Linked DNA regions of Homo sapiens: all the other regions are linked to region 3. Evidence: promoter capture Hi-C in human tissues and cell types (Jung and others, 2019). All regions are on one chromosome and are shown on one strand. Each heading gives the region's core, a stretch centred on a gene start or on the middle of the fragment in contact. The rest is flanking DNA. Distances are from core to core; before and after follow the strand shown.

Region 1 (5,025 bases), core at 202-2,701, 180 kb after region 3:
CATCTTTACCCCTCCTCAAATGAGGAACATGAGTTTTTGGAGGCAGAGGGCTATGTCTGTTTTCTATCTGGGCCGTATTCTCAGTCATGGCCACGCTGGGACTCCCTTCACAGTTTCGTCCCAGAAGAGGCTTCCAGGACAGTAGGACCCTCACAGAACAGCCCGAACCAGCTGCCCAAGGCCAGCAGGCAGTCATGGTATTTGGCCCTCGAGCTCTCCCCCACATGCTGAATCTCAGCCCATGGCCTGTGGTGAGAAGCCAGGGCCCCAGGGAGGGACGGCCAAGGCAATGAGACAGGAGGACAAGACTGGTCTGGCCAAGGCCCCATGGGGACTCTGTAGGCGGGTCAGGAGACGCCTTGGTGCTGAGGCTCTCTGGGCAGAAGGCCCGAGAGGAGGCAGAGCGCATGCTGTGTAGATGGCCCCAGCTTCTGGGCCTGACTCAGGGCCTGCCTGGAGACAGTTAGGGAGGTAAACCTGAGGTCGCCCCCACCTAGGCCTTTCCCCTACACAGGGCAGCTGTCTTCACGCACATGCAGGTGGGACTCCGGGAAGAAACTTGTAGGGGCTTTGGAGGAGACGGGCAGCGTGACCCACGTGTGAGCACTCGGCCCATGGCCTGGCATTTCCCACAGGGACACGTTACCTTGGCGAGGATGTGCTTGTCTTTGATGATGTACTCGTACGTCGTCAGCAAGACGTTGAACTTCCCACTCCGGAGCTGGGGGACAAAGGCCCGTCTTGCTGCTGGGGATCCCTGCAAGGGAAGCAGGATGCACAGCTCGGCTTTTGGAGCCGGGTGGCCAGGTGGCAAGAGGGGCACAGGCACCCCCTGCAACTGCCCAGTGACACGGCGGGAGGGCTCGTCCTCACAGGGGTAGTGGGGAAAGGGGCTGGCAGGGCCGCTGGCGCGTCCCCAGACCTCACCACGCAGAACACGCGCTGCAGGGGGAAGAGGAAGCAGTGCAGGCCAGCGGCGGCCGGGGCCTGAGGGAACCACGCAGCCTGCACCGCCATCTGCACATTCCTGGTGGCTGACAGGCTCCCCTCTTCCTGGGTCCCCATCTCAGGCGCCTGAGCTGGCCTCTGAGTGCTGGCCACCATGCTCACTCCTGTCTCCTCCCCAGTGAGCTAATCTGCCCTGTCCCTGCCCAGTCCAAACTCCCGGATCCATGTGACTGGAGTTCCAGGCTGTCCTGGAGACTCCATGCGACTGGAGACCCAGCATTCTCAGGTTCACTGTCCAGAGGTATGTGTGGACGTCCTGCCCACCACCGCCTGCACCTCCGTAGCAAGAGAGGAAACCTCAGTGGCTGTGACCTACCTTGTAAGACACCTTCACCACGGAGGGGGCCCACTTGTCAAACTCGTACGCCCAGTTGGACAGCGTTCTGATGGAACAAGGAAATGAGAGTCAAGTGCCGGTCTCTCATCAATGGCTCACTGTGCAAACCCATAGCCACTGGCTGTCAGGGGCGAGGCCAACATGGCCACAGCCCTCCGAGTGGGCAGAGAAACTGTGTTTAGGGCAGCTGAGGGAGGGAGGGAGGAAGAGAGACTGGCGAGGACGTGAAGGGCTCTGCCTCAGAGGACAGAAGGGAGGCCACTGGGAAAAGAGGGCAAGGCCCTTTAGAGTGAGAAGTAGGGACACAGAGATGTGATGGGGGACAGAAACAATGCTGCCAGGGCTGGGGAAGCCTGGACCTGCTGCCGGGAAAATGCAGCTTCAGAGCACAGGCTTCACGCCCAGAGCCAGGCTAGCAACAGTGCTGTGGAGACCTGAGGATATAGGAGACACCAAACAGTCTTTCTGCCACCCTCCAGCCACGGAAGGTTCCTGACTGTGAGAGAGAACGAGGACAGTGAGGGGCGAGGCGGGGCCTGGCTCAGGTGGCAGGCGGGAGGACAGGGATGGGAGGGAGCGGCAACTCGTGGCTGTTCCCCTGTGGGATGACCAGGGCTGGAATGAGGGAGGACATGGGGGCAGGCAGAATGCAGTGGGGAGGGGTGAGTCACCTGAGACCGACAGCCTAGAGACTGAGGAGAGGGTGGAGGCGGTAATAAAGCTGAGTCCCAAAGGGGACGGGCTCTGGGAGGAACTCTGGGGCAGGGAGTTTTCAGTGGGGGAGGGAAGCCACTCAGAAAGTCTAGACGGGGTGGTCCGTAAAGACAGGGCTCGAAGCTGGAGTCCCAGGGACTACTCGTGGTTTGCCCCCAAGCAGCTCCACGAGGGAGGTGCTGTGTCCACCATGAACCCATCTCCAGCCCCGCTGGAAGCCACAGCCAACCAGGCGGCACAGCCAATAGACAGAAGGACGCATGGCTGTGGTGAAGGCTGGGGAGAGTTCCTGAAGAAGCGTGGGGAGCAGAGGCTCAGCAGCCTTGCGCTTCTGCTGCCTTTTGCCCTGCCCACTCTCCTAGAACTCTTTCCTGCCCACTCTCCTGCATGAGGCGAGGGAGGCAGTGCAGCCGTCCTGCAACCATGAGGTAAGGAGCCTGAGGGTTGGAGTCACCCAAGAATGACTGGGCAGAAACCTGGGGGAGGCTGGGTCCCTGATGGCATCTTGGAGCCACCGGACCTGGCCCGTAGGGCCTGACCCTGTGCTTCCGCTGACTCAGGAACAGTGAAACCTCCCTGGAGTGATGGGGACAGTCAGCGCACCAAGGGAGAAGCCGGAGGTGTGCGGAGCATCTGCACTGGGAGGGAGAAGAGCCAGGAGCAAGGGTCAGGAGGGGACTGAGGGGACAGGTCCCAGAGACAGAGGTCCAAACGGAGGCAGGACAAGCAGCTCATGGCAGGAGGCAGCAATTCCCAGTGAGAGGGCCGGCACAGCCGGATGCCCATACGCCGTAAACATTTCCTAGCGCGCGGGCCCTCTTCTGGCCTGCAGGAGCTGGCGTTCCACAGCATGGACGCTTGCCCAGGTGGGGCGCAGTGGGAAAGACTGCAGGAGCACCCACCTCACAACCTCACTGAAGTAGGGGAAGAAGGTGACCTCTATCACCCTGGAAATGGAATCTGACTGCAATCTGGAGGTCTGAACACACAAGGAACTGGCCCCAAGGCCTGCGCTCTAGTGGCTCAAGATGCTTCCCGGAGGTACCGGCTCACTACTCTGAAACTGTTGTCCACGGAAGCTGAGAATGGGCGCACACACAGGGTGGAAGTGTGAGAAGGAACCTGTGGTCCTCACTCAGAGCCGCAGACAGTGGTATGAACTCACGTTCAGCTTAACACAGAAACAGATGCCGAGGCAGAGAAGGCCTTTTAGACGATACGTGCACAAAGCATCAGCACGCGCACATGAATCTCCTAGCACTGACCACTGAGAGGGCCCCAGGAGCAATGACACCCCAGAAGCAACAGGCCCATCCAGGACCCAGGTCTTGGTTCCCAAAACCATTCTGTAAGAAGGGAAACCAGGGCTCCTTGGAGAAATGGCTGATTTGAGGGAGTGGGCGGGAAATAGACTACATGAGCCTGCAGCATCTCTTGGTGCCAAAAAGCAAGAAAGTCCTCAAAATTCACCCGATGCTGGGGGCGTGTCAAAGGACAGAAGAGCCAACTGAAAGCACTCCCAGTGGCCAAAGCTGGATGGATTTGAGCCACAAAACAAAAAAAACCCAGCCACTGGTGCGTAGCCTGGAGTACTAAATAAATATCCGTGGGTCCATACTCATATTAACAAATGACTGAATACATAGAGAAGACACAATTCTTCCAGGGAGAATTCTCCCAGGCCAAATCTGAAAAAAACTGAAGCAACAAAATAAATAATATTTGTTCACGCCCACACTGATATAATAATTACCCAAACAAGCACATGGGGGAGACGGGAAAGCTCTTCCTAACGGTGGAATTCCAATTAATTTGTAGAGAAGAGCGGACAGAAACAGGTAACCATGTATTTGGCAACTCTCATGTAATTATTTTTTCAGGCAAGACTTATCTGACGTTTGCTGCTATAGTTTGGGTATCTGGCACCTCCAAACCTCATGCTGAAGTCTGATTTCCAATGTTGGAGGTGGGGCCTGGTGGGAGGCATCTGTGTCATGGGGGCCTCCCTCGTGAACGGCCTCGTGAACCCTCGTGAACGGCCTGTACTGTACTGGGGATGGGGGATGAATGAGTTCCTGCTCTCTGAACTCTCGTGGGAGCTATGGTTAAAAGGAGCCCGGCACCCCCGCCTCCCTCGCCTCCTCCCTCCCCATGGGATCTCTACACACTGGCTCCCCTTTGCCTTCCACCAGGAGTGGAATCCGCCTGAAGCCCTCACCAGGTGCCCAGTCTTCCAGCCAGCAGAATCATGAGCCAAATAAACCTCTTTTTTTTTTTGAGAAGGCGTTTCATTCTTGTTGCCCAGGCTGGAATGCAATGGCACGATATTGGCTCACTGCAACCCCCGTCTCCCAGGTTCAAGTGATTCTCCTGTCTCAGCCTCCTGAGTGGCTGGGATTACAGGCATGCGCCACCATGCCTGGCTAATTTTTTTTTGTATTTTTGGTAGGGACAGGGTTTCACCATGTTGGTCAGGCTGGTCTCAAACTCCTGACCTCAGGTGATCCGCCTGCCTCGGCCTCCCAAAGTGCTGGGATTACAGGAGTGAGCCACCGCGCCCAGCTAAACCTCTTTTCTTTATCACCTAGTCTCAGGTATTCCTTTATGGCAACATGAAATGGAGTAGAAGAGATGCTGAAATTATTGAGGAAAGTAGGAAGAGAAATGAGATATTCACAAGTGTCGAAGTACGTTCCCACGAGACAGTTATTAACGGAAAGTGTAACTCCTAGGTTTACAGTGGGAAACCCAGCAGGCACCTTGCCCGAGACACCAAGGCCTCAACATCTCATGCCTTCCCCGCTAAGGCACATCAAGCAGGGCGTGGTGTTGCTCCACGCGATCACATCGGACAAACCCAAATTGAAGGAGAGTCTACCAAAGGTCCGATCAGGATTCAACAGCGTCAAGCTCGACCAGGACAAAGACGAAATGAGGAACTGCCACAGGCATGCCACACAGACGTG
Region 2 (4,518 bases), core at 694-3,193, 190 kb before region 3:
CTGCCTCAGCCTCCCGAGTAGCTGGGACTACAGGCACCCGCCACCACGCCCGGCTAATTTTTTCTATTTTTAGTAAAGACAGGGTTTCACTGTGTTAGCCAGGATGGTCTCGATCTCCTGACCTTGTGATCCACCCACCTCGGCCTCCCAAAGTGCTGGGATTACAGGCATGAGCCACTGTGCATGGACTATTTATTTATTTTTTTGAAACAGAGTTTCAATCTTGTTGCACAGCCTGGAGTGCAATGGTGTGATCTCAGCTCACTGCAACCTCTGCCTTCTGGTTTCAAGCAATTCTCCTGCCTCAGCCTCCTGAGTAGCTGGGATTACAGGCACCCACCACCACGCTCGAATATATATATATATTTTTTGAGACGGAGTCCCGCTCTGTCACCAGGCTGGAGTGCAGTGGCACAATATCGGCTCACTGAAACCTCCGGCTCCTGGGTTCAAGCGATTCTCCTGCAGCCTCCCAAGTAGCTGGGATTACAGGCATGCAGCACCACGCCCATCTAATTTTTGTATTTTTGGTAGAGATGGGGTTTTACCATGTTGGCCAGGATGGTCTTGATCTCTTGACCTCGTGATCTGCCCACCTCGGCCTCCCAAAGTGCTGGGATTACAGGCGTGAGCCACCGCGCCCGGCCTACGCCTGGCTAATTTTTGTATTTTTAGTAGAGACGTGGTTTCGCCATGTTGCCCAGGCTGGTCTCGAACTCCTGACCTCATGATCCGCCTGTCTCGGCCTCCCAAAGTGTTGGGATTACAGGTATGAGCCACCGCGCCCAGCCAATTATTATTATTTTTTGAGATGCAGTCTCACTCTGTTGCCCAGGCTGGAGTTGCAGTGGCATGATCTTGGCTCACTGCAATCTTCATCTCCCAGACTGAAGCAGTTCTCATGCCTCAGCCTCCTGAGTAGCTGGGATTACAGGCACACGCCACCACACCTGGCTAATTTTTGTATTTTTAGTAGAGATGGGATTTCACCATGTTGGCCAGGCTGGTCTCAAACTCCTGACCTCAAGTGATTTGCCCACGTCGGCCTCCCAAAGTGCTGGGATTATAGGCGTGAGCCACCGGGCCCAGCCCAAGAGAATAAAAATGTGGGTGGTAAAAATTTTTTTCCCAAAAATTCGTAAATGAAAATCTCACATATTATGCATACTGCCCAGGAGCATGGCCTAGCACTGTGCAAACACTCAACTGCTGGTCGTTGCAAGGATTATTATTGGCCGGCTTCAGTGGCTCGTGCTGGTATTCCCAGCACATTGGGAGATGGAGGCTGGAGGATTGCTTAAGTCCGGGATTTCAAGACCAGCCTGGACAACATAGTGGGATCCCATCTCTACAAAGAATTTTAAAAATTAGCCAGGTGCAGTGGGAAGATTGCTTCAGTCCAGAGGCTGCAGTGAGCTATGATTGTGCCACTGCACTCCAGCCTGGGTGACAGAGCAACACCCTGAGACAGAGAGAGAGAGGGGGAAGGAGGGAAGGAGGGAAGGAAGGAAGGAAGGAAGGAAGGAAGGAAGGAAGGAAGGAAGGAAGGAAAGGAGAGAGAGAGAGAGAGAGAGAGAGAGAGAGAGAGAAAATAATTTTTATTTATTTCCAGGCTGGGAAGAGATGCTGATTTCTGCGATAAAATCAGTAGGTACATTTTTTGGAATGTTCGCTATGTGCCAGGCTAGATTTTACAGATGAGAAGTCTGAAGCTCAGGTAAGGTAAGTCACCTGTCCAGGGCCACAAAGAAAAAAAAAACGTGTGTCTGAAGCCAGAACGGGAGCTGTTGCGGCCCAACTCCCTCCCCTGCCCCCAAGCGGCCTCTGGGCTCGGGAAGGGCCCCTGCCTCCTCCCGCCAGGCACTTATCTCTACCCAGGCTGAGTGCTGGCCCCGCCCCCTCGGGGATCTGCCACTTAGAGGCGCCTGGTCGGGAAGGGCCTGGTCAGCTGCGTCCGGCGGAGGCAGCTGCTGACCCAGCTGTGGACTGTGCCGGGGGCGGGGGACGGAGGGGCAGGAGCCCTGGGCTCCCCGTGGCGGGGGCTGTATCATGGACCACCTCGGGGCGTCCCTCTGGCCCCAGGTCGGCTCCCTTTGTCTCCTGCTCGCTGGGGCCGCCTGGGCGCCCCCGCCTAACCTCCCGGACCCCAAGTTCGAGAGCAAAGGTAAGGATGAGCTGCGTGTGGACCCCTACGCTGGAGCCTGCAGGACCATGCTGGGGCCTGAACTCCCAGCCTAGGTCCTGGGGGCCATGCCTGTTTCTGGACTTCCTGACCGGGTCCTGGGGGCCAAGCTGGCATCTGAACCCTTAGACTGGGTCCTGGATGGGTGGGGGGCGGGGTGGGGTATGTTAGGATCCAAGACTCCTGATCGCGTCCCGGGCAAGAGCTAGAGTGGGCTTAACATTCCCGTTTTACCTTTTCAGGGAGTCTGGGACATGCTAAATCCTAAGGGGGCTGACTTGGTGCTAAGGTCCCTGGGGGGTGGGGACCAAGCCGACCCTCCCTAGGGGAGGGAGGGTAAAGCCCGGGTCCGAGTTAGAGGGGCCAAGCCACAGGCTACTGTAAACACGGTTTGTGTGAGGGCGCCAGATCACTTGCCCGGCCCGGTGGAGGGAGGGAGGCGGGGGGCACGGTTGGCGCTATCGGTTGGCGGGGAGCCTGCCGGGGCCGATAGGGGGCCCGCCTCTCCGCACACACCCCCAGCCGCGCGCGTGTCCTAGGCTGGGGCGGGGCTGGCAGTCCCGAGCTCGAGGTCTTGAACGCCGCGCCCAGCTCAGCTGGCCGCTGGGTGGGCAGGTGTGCGCCAGTGGTGACGGCGGGGGACAGTAAGGCGAGAAACTTGCCCCTGGGAATTAGGGGGGCACCACCTCTGCGGACCCCTCCAAGGGACCCGCTTGGGAAGATGGCAGGGCGGGGCTTTTTTCTTATCGGGTCCGCCCAGGCTGCGGGAGGGAAGAGGAGGGGGCTGTCTCCCGAGGATAGAGCTCAGACCCCCATGCCCTTCCTTTGTCGCCCCTCCCCAGCGGCCTTGCTGGCGGCCCGGGGGCCCGAAGAGCTTCTGTGCTTCACCGAGCGGTTGGAGGACTTGGTGTGTTTCTGGGAGGAAGCGGCGAGCGCTGGGGTGGGCCCGGGCAACTACAGCTTCTCCTACCAGCTCGAGTGAGTCCGATCCGGCGGGTGCCTCCAAGGGCGGAGGGAGGGGGTGGGGCAGAGCTCCCTGGAGGTCGTAGCCTCGTATGTCCCCTGCTGTTTGAGGCCCGACGGCGCCTCCAGTCGTGGTCACTGGAGGGAAACCTGCGGGTCCAGGGCTGGCACGCCCTCTATGGGCCGGGGCGCGAACACTCCCGCGATCACCGCTGGAACGCGACCCCAAACATCAGGCTGGGATAACAACGCCTCCAAATCGAGGGTAAGGCGTTACTACGTCGGGGCTGGGACGCCTTCTCGAGGTAGTATCCAAAAGGAGGCCAGCAGTGGCTCATGCCTGTAATCCCAACTCTTTGGAAGGTCGAGGCGGAAGAACCGCTTGAGCCCAGGAGTTCAAGACCAGCCTGGGCAACACAGCGAGATCCCCGTCTCTTAAAAAAAAATTAGACTGGGCGCGGTGGCTCACGCCTGTAATCCCAGCACTTTGGGAGGCTGAGGCGGGCGGATCACCTGAGGTCGGGAGTTTGAGACCAGCCTGGCCAACATGGAGAAACTCTATCTCTACTAAAAATACAAAATTAGCCGGGCGTGGTGGCGCATGCCTGTGATCCCAGCTACTCGGGAGGCTGAGGCAGGAGAATCGCTTGAACCCGGGAGGCGGAGGTTGCGGTGAGCCGAGGTAGCGCCATTGCACTCCAGCCTGGGCAACAAGAGCGAAACTCCGTCTCAAAAAAAAAAAAAAAAAAAGCCAGGCGTGGCGCGTGCCTGTGGTCTCAACTACTTGGGAAGCTGAGGTGGGAGGATCCCTTAAGCCCCAGAATTTGAGGCTGCAGTGAGCCATGATCGCGCCACTGCACTCCAGCCTGGGCGACGAAGGAACACCTTGTCACACACACACACAAGGCTAGACCTTGTGTCACACATACACACTGCCCCCCACAGGCCGGGCAATGCCAACTCCCCGGTCCCCCCTCCCAACCTGCTCCCTTCCCTGGGCGCATAGGGATGAGCCATGGAAGCTGTGTCGCCTGCACCAGGCTCCCACGGCTCGTGGTGCGGTGCGCTTCTGGTGTTCGCTGCCTACAGCCGACACGTCGAGCTTCGTGCCCCTAGAGTTGCGCGTCACAGCAGCCTCCGGCGCTCCGCGATATCACCGTGTCATCCACATCAATGAAGTAGGTAAGTGCTCTGGGAATGGAGGAGTGGTCGGAGGAGAGGGTCTCAGTCCTCGCCCACCTGACCAACCCCCATGCCTGCAGTGCTCCTAGACGCCCCCGTGGGGCTGGTGGCGCGGTTGGCTGACGAGAGCGGCCACGTAGTGTTGCGCTGGCTCCCGCCGCCTGAGACACCCATGACGTCTCACATCCGCT
Region 3 (4,536 bases), core at 1,636-4,135:
CCGGACCAGAAGGAGTACCACCGTGAGCTGGAGCGCAACTACTGCCGCCTGCGGGAGGCTCTGCAGCCCCTGCTTACCCAGCGCCTGCCCCAGCTGATGGCACCCACCCCACCCGGCCTCAGGTGCCTGACCTAGTGCCCCCATCCTAGAGACTAGAGAGGGGATGCAGAGGCAGACCAGGACAGGTACAGGATGGGGGCTGTTGTACACATACACAGCAACATGTTTGCTGGTAGCTTGGACTTTGTTTTGTTTCCGGTTTTTTTTTTGTTTTTTTTTTTGAGAGACTCTCCCTCTGTTGCCCAGGCTGGAGTGCAGTTGGCACAGTCTTGGCTCACTGCAACCTCCGCCTCCCAGATTCAAGCGAGTCTCCTGCCTCAGCCTCCTGAGTAACTGGGATTACAGGCATCTGCCACCACGCCTGGCTAATGTTTTGTATTTTTAGTAGAGACAGGGTTTCACCATGTTGGCCAGACTGGTCTCGAACTCCTGATCTCAGGTGATCCATCCGCTTTGCCCTCCTAAAGTGCTGGAATTACAGCATGAGCCACCACCACGCCTGGCTGCGGTGGCTTCAATTTTGCATAAGCATCTGAATATGTCATCCAGATGTACAAAGGCAGGGCAGGCTCTGAGCAGTCATTTCCCAGATACATGAATTCATCTTTCTGAGCCTCAGTTTCTACATCTGTAAAATGGGGATGATTCATACCTTCCGTGGTGGACTGCAAGAGAGAATCGGAGAATCCCACAGCCAGATCAGGGACAGGAGAGATCCCAGAAGGATCCTTGGAGGAAGACGAGGAGGAGGAGGAAGAGGATGTGGGCTGGGAGGTCTATGGAGTTGGGGGCCCCATGGCCATGCTGACCCACCCTCATTCTTTTTCCAGGAACTCCTTGAACAGAGCAAGTTTCCGAAAGGCAGACCTCTGAGCCCACAAGGACCAAAGCTGTACCTAGAGGAACCAGCACCCGGGCCTCAGCTGTCTGTGCTGCGAGGGGAGTCTGCCCTGGTGCCCACTGGGCTGTGGGGTGACCACACTGTACTTGGGGCTGGGCCCTCTGCCCCTGTGTCCCCATCTGTGTGCACTGATGCTTCCTCCCTTTTTTAATTTAAAATGGTTTTTATAAGCAACCTGTGCCATGTGGTGCGGTCACTAGGGGCTGGGTCACATGCTCATCACATGCTCACAGTCCACTGCCCCATATCCACACATCCCTGCATCATCAATGGGGACACCAAGAACATACTGGGTGCCAGGGACATCGTGGTGACAACAGGCAAAAATTCCTGCCCTTGTGGAGCTGATGTTCTAGTAGGGAAGGCAACACACAAATAATGTCACATGCTTACCTGCAATAACAATACCTGGTTTTTGTTTGTTTGTTTTTAACAGACGCTCTCACTCAGTCCCCCAGGCTGGAATGCAGTGTCACAGTCATAGCTCACTGCAGCCTCAAACTCCGGGGCTCAAGCCTCCTGAGTAGCAGAGATTATAGGCACATGCCACTGTGCCTGGCTTTTTTTTCTTTTTCTTTTTTTTTTTTTTAGACAGAGTTTCACTCTGTCACCCAGGCTGCAGTGCAGTGGTGCAATCTCGGCTCACGGCAACCTCCACCTCCCAGATTCAAGTTATTCTCATACCTCAGCCTCCCGAGTAGCTGGGATTACAGATGTGCACCACCATGCCAGGATAGTTTTTGTATTTTTAGTAGAGAAGGGGTTTCACCATGTTGGCCAGGCTGGTCTTGAACTCCTGACCTCAGATGATCCACCCACCTCGGACTCCCAAAGTGCTGGGATTACAGGCATGAGCCATTTCTCGGCCCCAGGTGGTTTTTTGTATTTTGTTTTTTGTAGAGATGGCGTCTTACCATATTGCCAAAGCTGGTCTCCAACTCCTTGGCTCAAATAATCCGCCCACCTTGGCCTCCCAAAGTGCTACGATTACAGGCATGAGCCACTGCGCCTGGCCTAATTTTTTTTCACTTAAAAATTTTTTTGCATAGACAGGGTCTTGCTATGTTGCCCAGGCTGGTCTCGAACTCCTGAGTTCAAGCAGTCCTCTTGCCTTGGCCTCCCTAAGCACTGAGATTACAGGTGTGAGCCACCTCGCCGGCTTAATAATATTTATTAAGCCCTTGCTGAGTGGCTGGCTGTGTACTAAAAGGGCTCCCAGAAAGATCTCTGCAAAAGTAGGCCACTCCATTTATGAGAGTTTTTAACCCGAAGGGCCTCCTTCCTGATGGTTAGGCCCCTTCCTAATGGTCAGTGAATCTTCTCAACGCTCCTATCAGGTAGCTAACATGATCATCTCCATTTTACAGATGAATAAACTGAGGCACAGAGCAGCAAAAGTTTGGTGGGTCTGGGATGGGAATGCAGGTCTGGCTGGCGCCGGCGCCCAGGACTCTGCAGCCTCCCTTCTCGCGCGGCGGTCACGCCACCGTGTGCCAGGACTGCGCTGGGCCGCTTCCAGCCCTGGGCCGCCTGGGGGAGGGGTGACCTCCCGCTGCCGCGCCCGCCCCGCGCGCCCTCCCCGAGCTGGGCCCCGGCCAGCTCCACCCCCTCCCGCCGCCGAGCCGTTCCGCCCCCCGCAGCGGCCCAGGGACAGCAGGCGGTGGGGGGGAGGCCGGCAGTGGGAGGACCCTGCCTCGGGGACTTAGGGAGGAAGGAAGGACGAGGCCGGACACCCCGGCGCGCACACACACCTGCTGTCCAGGTGAGATCCAGTCTCCAACCAGCGTCTCTCCATCCCCACCCCCCACCGCGGCCGGGGCGCCCGGGCGGCTGGAGGGGGCGGTGCCGGCTGGGGGGGCGGGACCAGCCGGAGGGGGCGTGGTGCGGGCGGAGCCACCTCCGAGGGCCGGGCGCCCAGGCTGCGGCGCGCGCGAAGACGCTCGGGCGGCGGGACCCAGGGAAGGCAGCGGCCGGAGCGCGCAAGGCGAGTGGGACCCGGGGCTGGGTAGGGGTTCAAGTCTGGTTCGGGGATCGAGTGTGCACCCCCTCCACACACACCTACTACCCTACCCCCCGCCTCCAACCCTGGGACACGACCTCGCTGGTCTCAACGAGCCGCTGCCTCCAACTCCACCTTCTGTGCCCAAACTTTCCAGACTTGGAGTGTCTGTCCCCGCGTCCCTGCCCCCTCCTCGTCTTTGACCCCATACCCCCATCGATTCCTCCCAGTACCCCCCATCGATTCCTCGTGCCCTGCCCGTTTCTCCTGTCTTGGCTCCCCTCTGCCCGCTCTCCCCTGTCTCTGTCCCACTTTCTGCCTCTGTTCCTCCCCGGCTCTGCCCTCTCCCCGCACTGTCCCCCCTCGCCCTCCTCCGCGGCCATGCCCCAGACGGCGGGAAGGCGGCCGGGCGTCCGGCCGGGCTGGGCCTGGGCTTGGCGGCTGGGCCGGCGTGGGGAGCGGCAGCTGTTTGCCATTAGCCCGGGATCCCACAGGCCCCGCCCCCTCTCTGCACGGGGCGGGGTCCTTCTCGCCTCCCCCCACCCCGAGTTTGGGGCGGGAAGACCCCCCCCCACCACCACCACCGACCTCCGCGATGTGCAGGCCGGTCTTGGGTGGTGGGTTGGGGAGACCCGCGCCCCTTCCCTGCGCTCCCTACCTGTCCCCTCTTATAGGCTCCAGTCTCTCCATCTCTGTCTTATCCTGTCACCCCTTCCCCATTCCCCAGGGGTCCCATGGCGAGAGAAGGGTCTCAGCCACAGACATCCATCTCCCCCACCACACCCCCTCGTCTCCTTTCTCTTCCCCTTACTCGGGACGTGCTGGTCCTCATCGAGGGCGGTGAGATGACTGAGTACCCTCAGACCTCAGTCTCCGTATCTGGGAAACGGGTAGAGATATCTGATGTGGAGTCTGAGGGTGGTGGCTTGGTGGGCAGTGGGGGGATCCACCAGGCTTAGGTTCATGTTCAGGCCCAGCCACTTCCCCATGGCCCCAGTGACCCCGAGGAAGCCACTGTACCTTTCTGTACCCTCTGCATCCCCTGTCTGTGAAACGGGGCGATAAGTGCCCATCTCATAGAATTGTCATGACAATTAAAAGAGTTGATGTTAGGCTGGGTGCAGTGGCTCATGCCTGTAATCCCAGCACTTTGGGAGGCCAAGGCGGGCGGATCACCTGAGGTCAGGAGTTCGAGACCAGCCTGACCAACATGGAGAAACACCATCTCTACTAAAAATACAGAATTAGCTAGGCGTGGTGGCAGGTGCCTGTAATCCCAGCTACTCAGGAGGCTGAGGCAGGAGAATCGCTTGAACCTGGGAGGCAGAGGTTGCCGTGAGCTGAGATCGCGCCATTGCACTCCAGCCTGGGCGACAAGAGCAAAACTCCGTCTCAGAAAAAAAAAAAAAAAAGAGTTGATGTTAGTATTACTGTTACTATACTATTTACCCAGCAGCACCCTCACTTCCCCCACCCCCAGCCCACCCCGCTCGGCTATTCCAATCCTGCTCCAATCCCGCTTGCTCCCTGCTTCTCCATCTCTCTTTGGTGGCCAGAAAATATTTTCAATCAACTT

The links. Contacts are between HindIII fragments. The study calls those that stand out against the background at their distance.
Region 1: a fragment that was not itself captured here is called in contact with the fragment with the promoter of KANK2 in region 3 in 1 of the 25 tissues and cell types used here (lymphoblastoid cells).
Region 2: the fragment with the promoter of EPOR here is called in contact with the fragment with the promoter of KANK2 in region 3 in 1 of the 25 tissues and cell types used here (dorsolateral prefrontal cortex).

What each region holds. Positions count from the first base shown.
Region 1 is chr19:11,015,323-11,020,347 of GRCh38, reverse strand. SMARCA4 (SWI/SNF related BAF chromatin remodeling complex subunit ATPase 4) reads right to left here. Exons shown (of 35, transcript NM_003072.5): 17 at 1,325-1,391; 18 at 647-757. Among named protein-coding and RNA genes, the nearest start is that of SMARCA4, 57 kb to the right of the region's middle. The HindIII fragment of the contact is 9,794 bases long and covers 1-5,025 here.
Region 2 is chr19:11,381,739-11,386,256 of GRCh38, reverse strand. It overlaps EPOR (erythropoietin receptor), which reads left to right and starts at 1,943. Exons shown (of 8, transcript NM_000121.4): 1 at 1,943-2,164; 2 at 3,025-3,160; 3 at 4,152-4,327; 4 at 4,408-4,518. The coding sequence starts at 2,050. RefSeq lists a silencer at 2,644-2,703 and enhancers at 4,157-4,246, 4,257-4,316, 4,303-4,518. The HindIII fragment of the contact is 19,405 bases long and covers 1-4,518 here.
Region 3 is chr19:11,195,894-11,200,429 of GRCh38, reverse strand. KANK2 (KN motif and ankyrin repeat domains 2) reads left to right here and starts at 2,885. Exons shown (of 13, transcript NM_001136191.3): 1 at 2,885-2,945. It overlaps DOCK6 (dedicator of cytokinesis 6), which reads left to right. Exons shown (of 48, transcript NM_020812.4): 47 at 1-122; 48 at 891-1,135. The coding sequence ends at 933. RefSeq lists a silencer at 2,402-3,021. The HindIII fragment of the contact is 26,033 bases long and covers 1-4,536 here.